Linked DNA regions of Homo sapiens: region 1 is linked to region 2. The links are contacts of gene promoters, found by promoter capture Hi-C in blood cells and fetal thymus (Javierre and others, 2016). All regions are on one chromosome and are shown on one strand. The core of a region is centred on a gene start or on the middle of the fragment in contact, and the rest is flanking DNA. Distances in the headings are between cores, read along the strand shown.

Region 1 (5,713 bases), core at 2,072-4,571, 2.1 Mb before region 2:
GTATAGTGGCTTCTCAGCCATCTGGTACTCAGCCTCTTCCTCATCCTTCTATCATATTAGCCTGTGGCTTCCACCCTCAAGGTCAGAAATTCCAGGATGGCTCCTGGAGCTCCAGTCATCAAGATGACATTCAACCAGAGGAAGGGAGAAGGCAGGCCAAACCAAGCACACCTTTCAAGTGGAGTCAACTTCTTTTAAGCAGCCTACTTGAACATTGCATACATTTCTGTTTACATCTCATTGGCTGGAACCTAGCTCTCCAAGGGAGGCTGAGAAATTGTCTTCTAGCTGTATACATTGTCATCTCAAATGAAATTAGGATTGTTATAAAGGGAAAAGAATAAAGTGGAGGTTGAGTAGGCAACTACGCCTGCTTTCCTTCACTCTTAGGACCAGTGCAATTTAAATTCTCTCACACCGTAGGAGTGGCTGATATTCTACATATTCATGCATGCATCTGTATGTAAACACGCTAAGCTATGACCTTTCCTATTGACGTTGAGCAGAAACAACTCATAAGAAAAAGATTTTTTCTTTTGTGAAATCATAGGGGAAATGTCATGAGCTTTCTCCCCAGAGCACATTGCTCCACCCAGTGGCTTGGAGCCCTATCCTAGTGCAGTCATACTAAAAAACATGCACAGCTGTGGCTGATCATGTGCTCTACTGGGAGGGGTCACCCTGGTAATTCATATTGCCAGCTTCAAAGTTAAGGGGCAAACGTGTTGGGATTCTTGGCCCACATATCTAGTTATAGAGAATAAGATCATTGAAAGTTTTACAGAAATTGTTGGGAATGTGTAGAAAGTTTCAGGGCTACTGACTTTCCTCTAAGGAGGAAATCAATTCGGCATATAATCCACTGATATGAAAACATCTGGATCAATTGCATTTTCAACATTTGGATATTTGAAACTTACTTTAGTGTTTGGAACTTGATTCCATTCAACTTGGGGGGAATTTTATTTACCAAAGACCTATTGTTAACCAAGAATCAGGTGAGGCACTGATGCAAAAATGAATATAACAATATCCTTACTCTGGCAGAGCAGATAAACAATATGCAGTAAATTTCATGCAGATTACAGGAGATCCGGGCCCAAAGGGATGATGTGATGATGATGATAATCTCTCCAATTTAAATAAGAGGAAATCCTGGTTTTACAATTACACAATTTGTCTGAGGCTGCACAGCTAGTGCAGCGGCAAGGCAAGAATCTAAGCCGAGGTGTACTGGATAACAAGGTCCAGTCTTCTTGGAGTCCTTCTTCCGCCACAGCACCATCTAGGTTAATCAGTGAGGCACTCAGGATGGTTAAATTGGGAGCCAAATGGAAAATGCATTGAAAAGTCTGGAGCGAGGAGCACTCAGATGGGACAAGAGTCTGTGCCAGGTACCAGGTGGTGCAGTGTAGACTGGAGAGGACAGATGTGAAAGATTGTGTGCTCATGGCCTAAGTGAAGCCACAAGTCTCTTCAGTGCTCTGGGGTTAATACTAACCCCACCTCTAAGTGATTCAGTGACTGTGGATGGTAAAGTTGAATCTCAGATCTAATTAGTGTCTTAACCTGAGCTCATCCTGGCATGCATCATTCCACAACAGAGGAGGGTGAAGCAAGACTTTCTAGTACTATTTGGAAGCAGGCGGGGGTAATATTCAAAATGTTGAAAAACTGGAGTAGCACAATTACCAGTTAATCAGAACTGAGGCAGATGAGCTGATGGGTACAGTCACCATTGTGCCAAACATTAACCCTCTAATGACTGACTCATGGGAAGGCATAGGAGGAGAGGCCTGGGGATGGGCTGAGAGAGGTAATGAGTATTTACCATTTTGCACTTTTGTTGCTTTTTAATCCAATGTAAGAATAGACGTACTGCATACTTCCTGGGTTTTACCAGCCCCTAAATTTACTCACTTAAAAAATTTAATTACATAGACACGAATCATTCATTGTAGTTGCTAAATATTGGTAGCAACTAACTCGTTGCCTTTTGTTGGAATTTCAGATTTTCAGTAGAGAATGTGACTGGCCCAGTCTGAGGCAGGTGTCCATTCCTGGTCACCACCATTATTTTTGGGCAGAAGAGCATACTCACAGAGTTAAACATAATAATTAAAATTGTGTTTTCCTGGCTGGGCATGGTGGCTCATGCCTATAATCCCAGCACTTTGGGAGGCTGAGGCGGGCAGATCGCCTGAGGTCAGGAGTTTGAGACCAGCCTGGCCAAGATGGTGAAACCCCGTCTCTACTAAAAATACAAAAATTAGCTGGGTGTGGTGGCATGCACCTGTAATCCCAGCTACTCGGGAGGCTGAGGCAGGAGAATTGCTTGAACCCGGGAGGCAGAGGTGGCAGTGAGCCGAGGTTGTGCCACTGCACTCTAGCCTGGGTGACAGAGTAACACTCTGTCTCCAAAAAAAAAAAACAACTTATAAATCAATAAGAAAAAGATGAACAACCAAATGAAAAACGGTCTAGGACATGAATAGGTAATTCCCAAAAGAATAAATATAAATGGCCAGTTCACATGTGGCAAAAACAAAACAAAACACAGAATCTCTCTAATATCAAAAAATGCAAATTCAAACATGTTATAATTTTTAAATTATCAGTTGATCCTGGATAAAAATACAGACAGTATACACTGTTGACAAGGCTAAGGAAAGAAGTCTTCTCACTCACTTCTCGGGGGATGGAGTTTTCTGCTTGAAAATTAGGTGAAATGTATCAACTCCCCCTCCCCACAAAAAAGTGCATAATATGATTAGCAAGTCTACTTCCAAGAACTTGACTCTGAGGAAACAGACAATGAAAATAATAGTAATGTTAATATTGAGCACTTACTATTCGACAGGCATTCTGCTGAGTGCTTTCCGTGTATTTCTTCACTTACCCAATGTAACAATCCTATAACACTCTCCATGAGTGGGGAAAATGAGAACAACTCTAAGTGTTTCAAAAATTGTAGACTATAAAATCTACATTTACAGTTGCAAGCTGTATTCCACACATATGATGGATAATATGCAATCAAATATATATATTTGTTGCTACTAAAGATATTCATTTTATACTATATGATTTTAAATGCTATTAAAATTATACAGATATATATCTATGTATAGGAAAAGAGCTGCAAATATGTATACGATGGCTGTCTCTAAGCAGTGAGATTCCAAAATATTTTAACCTTTTCTCTGTATTTTCTATTTTTCTTCACATCTAACATACGTCAGTGGTGGTGTGTTGTTTTTGTTTGTTTGTTTTTTTGAGACAGGGTCTTGCTCTGTCACCCAGACTGGAGTGCAGCGGCCAGATATTGGCTCTCTGCAACCTCCACCTCTCAGGCTCAAGGGATCCTCCCGCCTCAGCCTCCCATACCACACCTGGCTAATTTTTGCATTTTTTTTTCTTTTTTGAGACAGAGTTGCACTGTGTAGCCCAGGCTGGAGTGCAGTGGTGCGATCTCAGCTCACTGCAACCTCTGCCTCCCGGGCCCCAGTTCAAGCAATTGTCCTGCCTCAGCCTCCTGAGTAGCTGGGATTACAGGCACATGCCACCATGTCCGGCTAATTTTTGTATTTTTAGTAGAGACAGGGGTTTCACCATGTTGGCCAGGCTGGTCTTGAACTCCTAACCTCGTGATCCACCCGCCTTGGCCTCCCAAAGTGCATTTTTTTTTTTTTAAAGGATGGGTTTTCACCATGTTGCCCAAGCTGGTCTAGAACTTTTGGGCACAAGTGATCCATCCACCTCGCCCTGCCAGAGTGCTGGAATTATAGGCGGGAACTGCCGCGCCTGGCCCACTTGTGCTTTAAAAGGAGAGACACACATAAACACACTGCTGCTTACAAAATGTGAATTGATACCCTTCTTTCCACCAATATGTAAGGGTGAAAAGTCTAATTTCAATGGAAATTATCAGAATAATACATGTAATTCAAATTATCTACAATAGTGCAATGGCCTTGAAAATTTGGGGATGAGATCTGAATCTCTGAAGAAGGCAGGACTTTTATCTGTGTCATCTGAAAAAATTACATGTACTTTGCAGCACAGATATATGCAGTTATGTTCAGAAAATTCAGTCTGTTTCCAAAGAATCACCTCCCTGGACTATCTCAAACAAGCTGTAAGAAAAATGAGGTGAACACACTTGCTAAGCAAACAGGCCTCAGGCCTCCCCTTCAATCTTAAGAGTTGTGAGCTGTTAGGTCATGACCAGACCTAGACTGTACCCCTGCTGTTGTTTCATGAATATCCATGACTTTCTGTCCGTTACTGAATAAAAGTTGTGAGCAGCCAGAGTTTGGTTCAATAAAAGGGCACCTTTCTTGCACAGAGACTTAACAGATAAAATAATTCATTAACTTATTAATGCCATAAACACTGAATACATTAAATGTGGGGGAAAGATGCATAGATCAAGTCCCTGCCCTTACAGAGATGATAGGGTTGTGGAGAGAGTTACACCAACAGTTACAAGTACTTGACGCCACTCTGAAGCTGAGCAGGCATCATAGTAGCTACAAGGGGGGGAAGAAATACCTGGGTCTGTCTGAAAGATCAGGGAACCTCCTTGTGAGGCACCAATACATCTAATCACTCTGTAGTTACTGACTACTAGGCACCATGAGAGATGTCAAAACTTGGTCAGGCATGATTAGTGTTAAGACCAGGGTGCCTGAAACTTAGCACTTGTTTTTTCTCTTCTTCAGGATGCTGGAAAATAGAAAATACATCCAAAGATGGCTGGCCAGTAAATGAATGGGGTACAGAATTTATTAATCTGTGCAAGCAAACTTTGCCTCCATGGAGGGTGCTCTGGTAAACTAATGCAGAAAATTCCAGCTCTCCTAGACTTCAGGACCTGCATGCTCAGGTGTGCCTGCCAAGGTATAACTGGTCCAGCACACAGGGCTCCCTCACACACCCAGCTGCAGGTGAACAGAGAGAAAGCATGGAGGGAGGAAGGGAGGGTGGAAAGTGGGGCTGGGGAGGAAATGGGAGTGATGTGTGAGGTACTGCCCAGGTGTTCTTACTGGATGGGAACAAAATATGCCAGAGAGCAAGAGGACATGCCAGGTAAGGAGAGCGAGGTGTTAGACAGTGATCTTGCTCCCTGGTGAACCAGGGGCTGTTGTCATGCATCACCTATGACAATGAAGGAATCTGGGGAAAAGAAGGAGAGATATAAATTCCTCTCTTTTACAACAGATAGTGAAAGGGAAATAATGCATATGTATAAGAAAGATAGCCTGAGATGTAATTGGCCCATCTGTGTGCACAAAAGCAAAACAGAGGGACATTGCTCCAAAGGGAAAAATAATTAGGGCAGAGAATGCCTCTTACTGACCAACAGGTGGCACTACAGACCAAACACAGCATGGTTGTTGGTCTGTAAAGTGTGGGGTAGTGTGAAAGTTGGGTATCAAAACCCAGAGTGGCCAGACAGGCTCACACCTGTAATCTCAGCACTTTGGGAGGCTAAGGTGAGAGGACCACTTGAGGCCAAGGGTGTGAGACCAGTCTGGATATCAAAGTGAGACTGTGTCTCTGAGACTTTCTCGCTACTAAATAAATAAATAAATAAATTTTTGATAGAATGAAAAGATCCGGAGTGCTTACAATGGAATACCGTTCACCCATAAAAAAGAAGGGAAATTCCCATGTATGCTATAATATCAATGAATCTTAAAGACATTAT
Region 2 (5,498 bases), core at 2,025-4,524:
CCCAAACACCTACAACAGCCATTCGCTGTTTCACAAGCGCCCCAAAAGGGAGGCATATAGTATTTGTCAAACAACTGAAGAACATCATTTAAAGGTCAGGCAGTTCAAAGTGCACAGTTTCTTTAAGGGCTTCAAACTTAAGTTCATGAGCCTGTAAGTAATGTTAACTAATTCAGGATGTTTACAAGTATGCCCAAACTAACCTGCTCTTCCAACTTAGCAAGTACTATCAGGCATCTTTTTGTCACGTATTAGCTAACAACAACATCTACGTTACACAGCCAGCCAAAATTAAATTTAGAAATCAGTCCAGATATCAATTTCAAAATAGAACAATGACCAGAACCTGAAGGATAAATACAATGCTAGGAAAATAAAACACACTGAAAATGTAAAAATGAAAAAAAAGTTTAAAAATGTAAAAAATGTTTTACAATGTGAAAAAAAAAATTGCACTGTCCTACATTTCAAACACTCTAAAATTAACTTACTTTCTATTGATGGGAAAGCACTAATTAGCAGCTTCGGTGAAAATATTAAAATATGTATTTTTCCTCTACATTCTTATCCTAGTAATCTCAATATTTTTTCAAAGTAAAAAATTGCCCCAAAATAGTTTTAGATTTGTGGTTCTTAAATTTAGTTTGTATAAGTATCACTTAGGGAGAGTGTTAAAAATGCTACCAAGGTCTCACCTCCAAATATTACGGTATATAATGAGGATGAGATCTACACATTTCATAAGCACCCCAGAAGATTATAATGCAGACGGCCCACAGATCATTTTGAAAACTACTTCTAGTCTAGAAAATCCAAATGAACTATACCCAATCCTCCTGGTGAACTTTAAACTAAAATGACCTGGATTTTAGCTTTTGAGGTCCCCCCCCTTTATAAATGTAACTGAACTAAATTACAGAAAATATCAGAAACAAAGAATAAAGAAGAAAAAAAGGTACTTTCATCTCACTACTCCAGGTGACTTTGCTTAGCATTTTGGTATGTTTCCTTTTATCCCGGTCTCTAGGTATATGTTTGTTCCATGTCTTTTCACGTTGTAACCATGGTGCAGTTTCAAGTGCTATCCGTCATATTTAGTGACTGCATTATATCTCATCAAGTGAACCTACCACTGTTTAACCATTCCCTACAGCTGACTACTTCCTCACTACTATAAATAAAGCTGTAAATATTTTTGTATGCAATTTGCAATACTTGAATGCTTCTTACGTGTGGAAAGAAAATCTATAGCACCAAACTGTTTTCCAAAAGGGTTTTTACCACCATCTTTGTCAGAAAATGCTGTTCAGATGTTACCTTTAAATTTTTTGGTGGGATTAATGGAAGGAAAAAATACCACTGTCTTTTAATTTGCACTTCCTAATTACCAGCCAGGTAAAACATTCGTTAATTAGTTGTATTTTTTCTTTCTCTAAGTTATCTATCCTGTCCTTTATCCATTCGTCAATGGAATCTTATTATTTGTTTCTAGTTGTGTGAACTTTACATTCATTTTCTTGTTCATCTTTCTGATTCAACTGTGAACCTTTGTATCTAATTCTGTCCCACTGACCTGCCTGTTTTTGCTTCAGTACTACCCAAGACTCTGCCATTTTAATAACAACACGTTCTACTCAGGCAGCTATTTAAAACCATCTTAGTATAATGAAACAGACATGGTCTTCAGTGTGAGTTAGCTGTTTGTTACCTTGGGCAAGATACTTGACTCTTCTGGGCCTCAGTCCCATTTGTGAAATTGGGGTAAACAATTCTTACGCCTCCCTAACAGGATGGCTGTGATTAAAAGCTAGTAATGCCAAACAATCACCTTTTCATTAGATGTCAATCTACTATCCTCAAATAACCAACAAGCAAATTCTAACATCAAGGGAGGGATTCATTTATAAGCAAATGTGACCTTGTGTGTAGAAACACAAAGCAGGTAAAGCCTCACTTGTCTGTTTTCGTATTTACTTTCCTGGGTCTTGACAACTAATACGTTAATGAAAAACAAAAACAAAAACAAAAAAGTGGCCAGGCGCGGTGGTTCACGCCTGTAATCCCAGCACTTTGGGAGGCCGAGGTGGACGGATCGCTTGACCCCAGGAGTCCGAGACCAGCCTGGGCAACATAGTGAAACCCTCTCTCTACCAAAAATAAAAATAAAAAAAATTAGCCGGGCGTGGTGGCGCGTGCCTGTAGTCCCAAATACTCGGGAGGCTGAGGTCGGAGCATCACCTGAGCCCGGAGAGGTCGAGGCTGCAGTGAGCCATGATCGCGCTACAGCATTCCAGCCTGGGCAACAGAGCAAGACCTTGTCTCAAAAAAAGCGGGGGGAAGGGGGTGACAATAACCCCAAAACATCAGTCCTGCAAGATTTTTCAACTACTCTCTTCCCCCAAACAAAAACATAAAACTTCGCAAATGGGCAATCAGGACAACCTGATCTGCCCCTCTATCCTTGCCACTTGTCTAATTCTGAAGTCTGAGCGACAATCCATAATTGGAATGCGAAACGCCTTTCAATGGTAAAACGCACGCTTGCCTAATGAAGACACTAACGTTTAGTTGGCGACTGAGCCGTCCTGGTTCACAGATTTCGATTTCGACCCTCCGGAGCATCAACGGCTCGGGAGGAAACTGAGGCCCCGGGCGGGTCAGAAGAGCCCAGCCCAAGGTCATCCGGGAGTCCGGGTAGGCCGGGCCCCGGGGATCTCCCAGCCCGGCCCGGCCCGGCCCGGCCCGGCCCGGCCCGGCCCGCGCTGCCGCTCACCTCAGCAGCGCCAGGAAGGCTGCGGGCTCCACGTCCGGCAGCTCGATCTCGGCCGACGTGGTGGCCATGCCGCCGTTGAACATGGCGTCAAAGACGGCGCTGCCGGCCGCCAGCACGAAGCGGTGGGCGGGGATGCGCTGCGGGCCCCCAGCGGCGGCGGCGCCGCGACCCTTGCCCAGTACGAAGCGCACATCGCTCAGCAGCTCCGAGTTGAAGAGGAAGGCGAAGCGCTCCTTCAGCGACGCCTTGGTCGCCTGCCAGTTGTAGAGAGGTTCCCGCTGCAGGGGGAGCAGGGGCCCCAGAGAGGACGGTGAGGGCGGCGGCGGCGGCCCCGCGGGGCCCGGCTCCGCCTCAGCCCCCGACGCCTGCTCCCCAGCTGCGGCAGGCCCGAGTGAGGCCATCCTCCAGCTGCGCGGTTGCCCACGTTATGGACAAAACTCCGCCGCCATCGCCCAGGCCGCCTCCGGAGGCCGGCGCTGCCTCCCTGCCTTCCGGGAAAGGCGCTTCCGGGGGCCTCGCGCCTCCGCAGGCCCCTCCCTGACCGCGCGCGCCCCCGCACGCCCGGGTTGCCGCTGTGCGCGGCCGCGGGAGGTGTAACAGGACTGGACTCCCGGCAGCCCCAGGGCAGGGGCGTGGGGAGCTGGTCCTAGCTCAGCGCTCCCGGAGGTGGAGCTTCTGCAGGCTGGGTGCTGCCGGGCCTACGGGCACCCACCCCCTGGCTCAGTGCCCTGGGTATTCTGACTCAGTAGGTCTGGGGTAGGGCCTGAGAATTTGTAATTTTAAGATGCATCGTGGATCTGCAGGCGGCTCTCACGGCTGCCTTTTTCTTCCTGCAGGCCCCTTATCACCAAGTCCAGCGCCCCCATTGTGTATCTGGGACATGTCCCAAGGCCTGTCCCGAGGAGTGTTTTGCCTGGAAGTGGAGGGGCAGGAAAGTATGGCCAAGGGAACACGTGAGGGAGGGGATGACATGACTTCCCACAACCCTGTACCCCAAGCGTGGCCAAGTCGCCGCTCCAGAAGGCCGCGAAACCCGTGGAAATTCCGGAAGCAGAGGTGGAAGGCTTAGAACCCCAGTGACCTCTCCCCAGGTCCGCAGGTCCCTTTCCCTTCTAATTGACCCTTTGGTTCCGTCCTCTGGGCCTAAGAGACATTTCCTTCTACTGCTTCCACCCCTGTATTTGAAACCCCTCGTGCTTGCCCACCTTCTCTTGTAGCGCTTTTCAGTCCTTGCACTGAACCACTGCCTAAGCTTGAAATTTAAAAAATTAAAAACTAAAACACACACACAATGGAAAAGGCTGTATTATCCCTTCCCAGGCAGTATTTACAACCCGGTCATCATGATTGGGGGACCGAGGCCTTCCTTTTTCTCCCTTCAGTGAGGCAGGCCCTGAGTTAAGTCAGCTGTCAAAAGCAGAACGTAGAAAACCCAAGAAATAGTCCTTGACCAGGCACGTATAGTTGGAAACACCTGTTCTTTGCAGGAAGAGCCTTACAGATTACAAATGCCGTCAAGTAAATAGTAAACCCCAAACCTGGGTTTCTCCTGTAAAATCACTCCACTTGTGAAACCACCAGAGGGGACTTCCAGCTGTTAGGCATTTAGAATGGTAACTTCTTTGGGAGAGGAACGTGCTTGGGAAGAGACTTAAAGTAGTAGGGGCTGAAATAGTGGATGCACAACCCCTTCCCCATTGCCAGCCGGCAATTCCTAAAGACAAAGGGACATCATGCTACTAATGATACCATTATCACACCTAACAAAATTAACCATATCATCAAATCATCTATATATGATTTTTTTTTTTTTGAGACGGAGTCTCGCTCTGTTGCCAAAGCTGGAGTGCAATGGCATGAAGTCTGCCTTCCGGGCTCAAGCGATTCTCCTCCTCAGCCTCCCGAGTAGCTGGGGTTACAGGTGCGTGTCACCACATCCAGCTAATTATTTGTATTTTTAGTAGAGACGGGGTTTCACCATATTGGCCAGGCTCCTCTCCAAGTCCTGACCTCGTGATCTACCCGCCTCGGCCTCCCAAAGTGCTGGGATTACAGGCATGAGCCACCAGGCCTGGTCCTATGTATAATATTTAATGTACAGTTAATATTTGTTTCTCCACTTGTCTCTAAAAAAATTTTTTTTTGAGACGGAGTCTTGCTCTGTTGCCCAGGCTGGAGGGCAGTGGCATGATCTCCGCTCACTGCAAGCTCTGCCTCCCACGTTCACGCCATTCTCCTGTCTCAGCCTCCCGAGTAGCTGGGACTACAGGCACCTGCCACCAAGCCTGCTGATTTTTTTTTTTTTTTGTATTTTTAGTGTGTCCAGAGTTCGTTCCTTCTGGTGGGTTCGTGGTCTTGCTGACTTCAAGAATGGAGCTGTGGACCTTCCTGATGAGTTTTATAGCTCTTAAGATGGCAGGGACCCAAAGACTTCTTCTGAAGAGCAAAAGAACAAAGCCCTTATGTCATGGAAAGGAACCCCAACGGGTGGTTGCAGTCTCTGGGCGTGGGGGCAGGAGGGGAGGGGCCGGCGGGGGTGGGGGGGGTGGAGTCAGCTTTTACTTCCTTATTTGTCCCCGCCCATGTCCTGCTGATTGGTCCATTTTACAGAATGCTGATTGGTGCACTTTACAGAGTGCTGATTGGTCTATTTTACAGGGTGCTGATTGGTCCATTTTACGGAATGCTGATTGGTCCATTTTACAGAGTGCTGATTGGTCCACTT

The links. Contacts are between HindIII fragments. The CHiCAGO score rates a contact against its expected background, and 5 or more counts as called.
Region 1: a contact is called between a fragment that was not itself captured here and the fragment with the promoter of BTBD1 in region 2, in 1 of 17 cell types (naive CD8 T cells). The highest score is 5.7, in naive CD8 T cells.

Annotation. Positions count from the first base shown.
Region 1 is chr15:80,991,058-80,996,770 of GRCh38, forward strand. No RefSeq gene overlaps it. Among named protein-coding and RNA genes, the nearest start is that of MIR4514, 3.6 kb to the right of the region's middle. The HindIII fragment of the contact is 7,858 bases long and covers 1-5,713 here.
Region 2 is chr15:83,063,978-83,069,475 of GRCh38, forward strand. BTBD1 (BTB domain containing 1) reads right to left here and starts at 3,275. Exons shown (of 8, transcript NM_025238.4): 1 at 2,774-3,275. The coding sequence starts at 3,174. MIR4515 (microRNA 4515) reads left to right here and starts at 3,358; the gene lies at 3,358-3,438. RefSeq lists silencers at 2,593-2,762, 3,003-3,482, 5,359-5,408 and enhancers at 3,543-3,662, 3,673-3,722, 5,160-5,454. The HindIII fragment of the contact is 13,987 bases long and covers 1-4,023 here.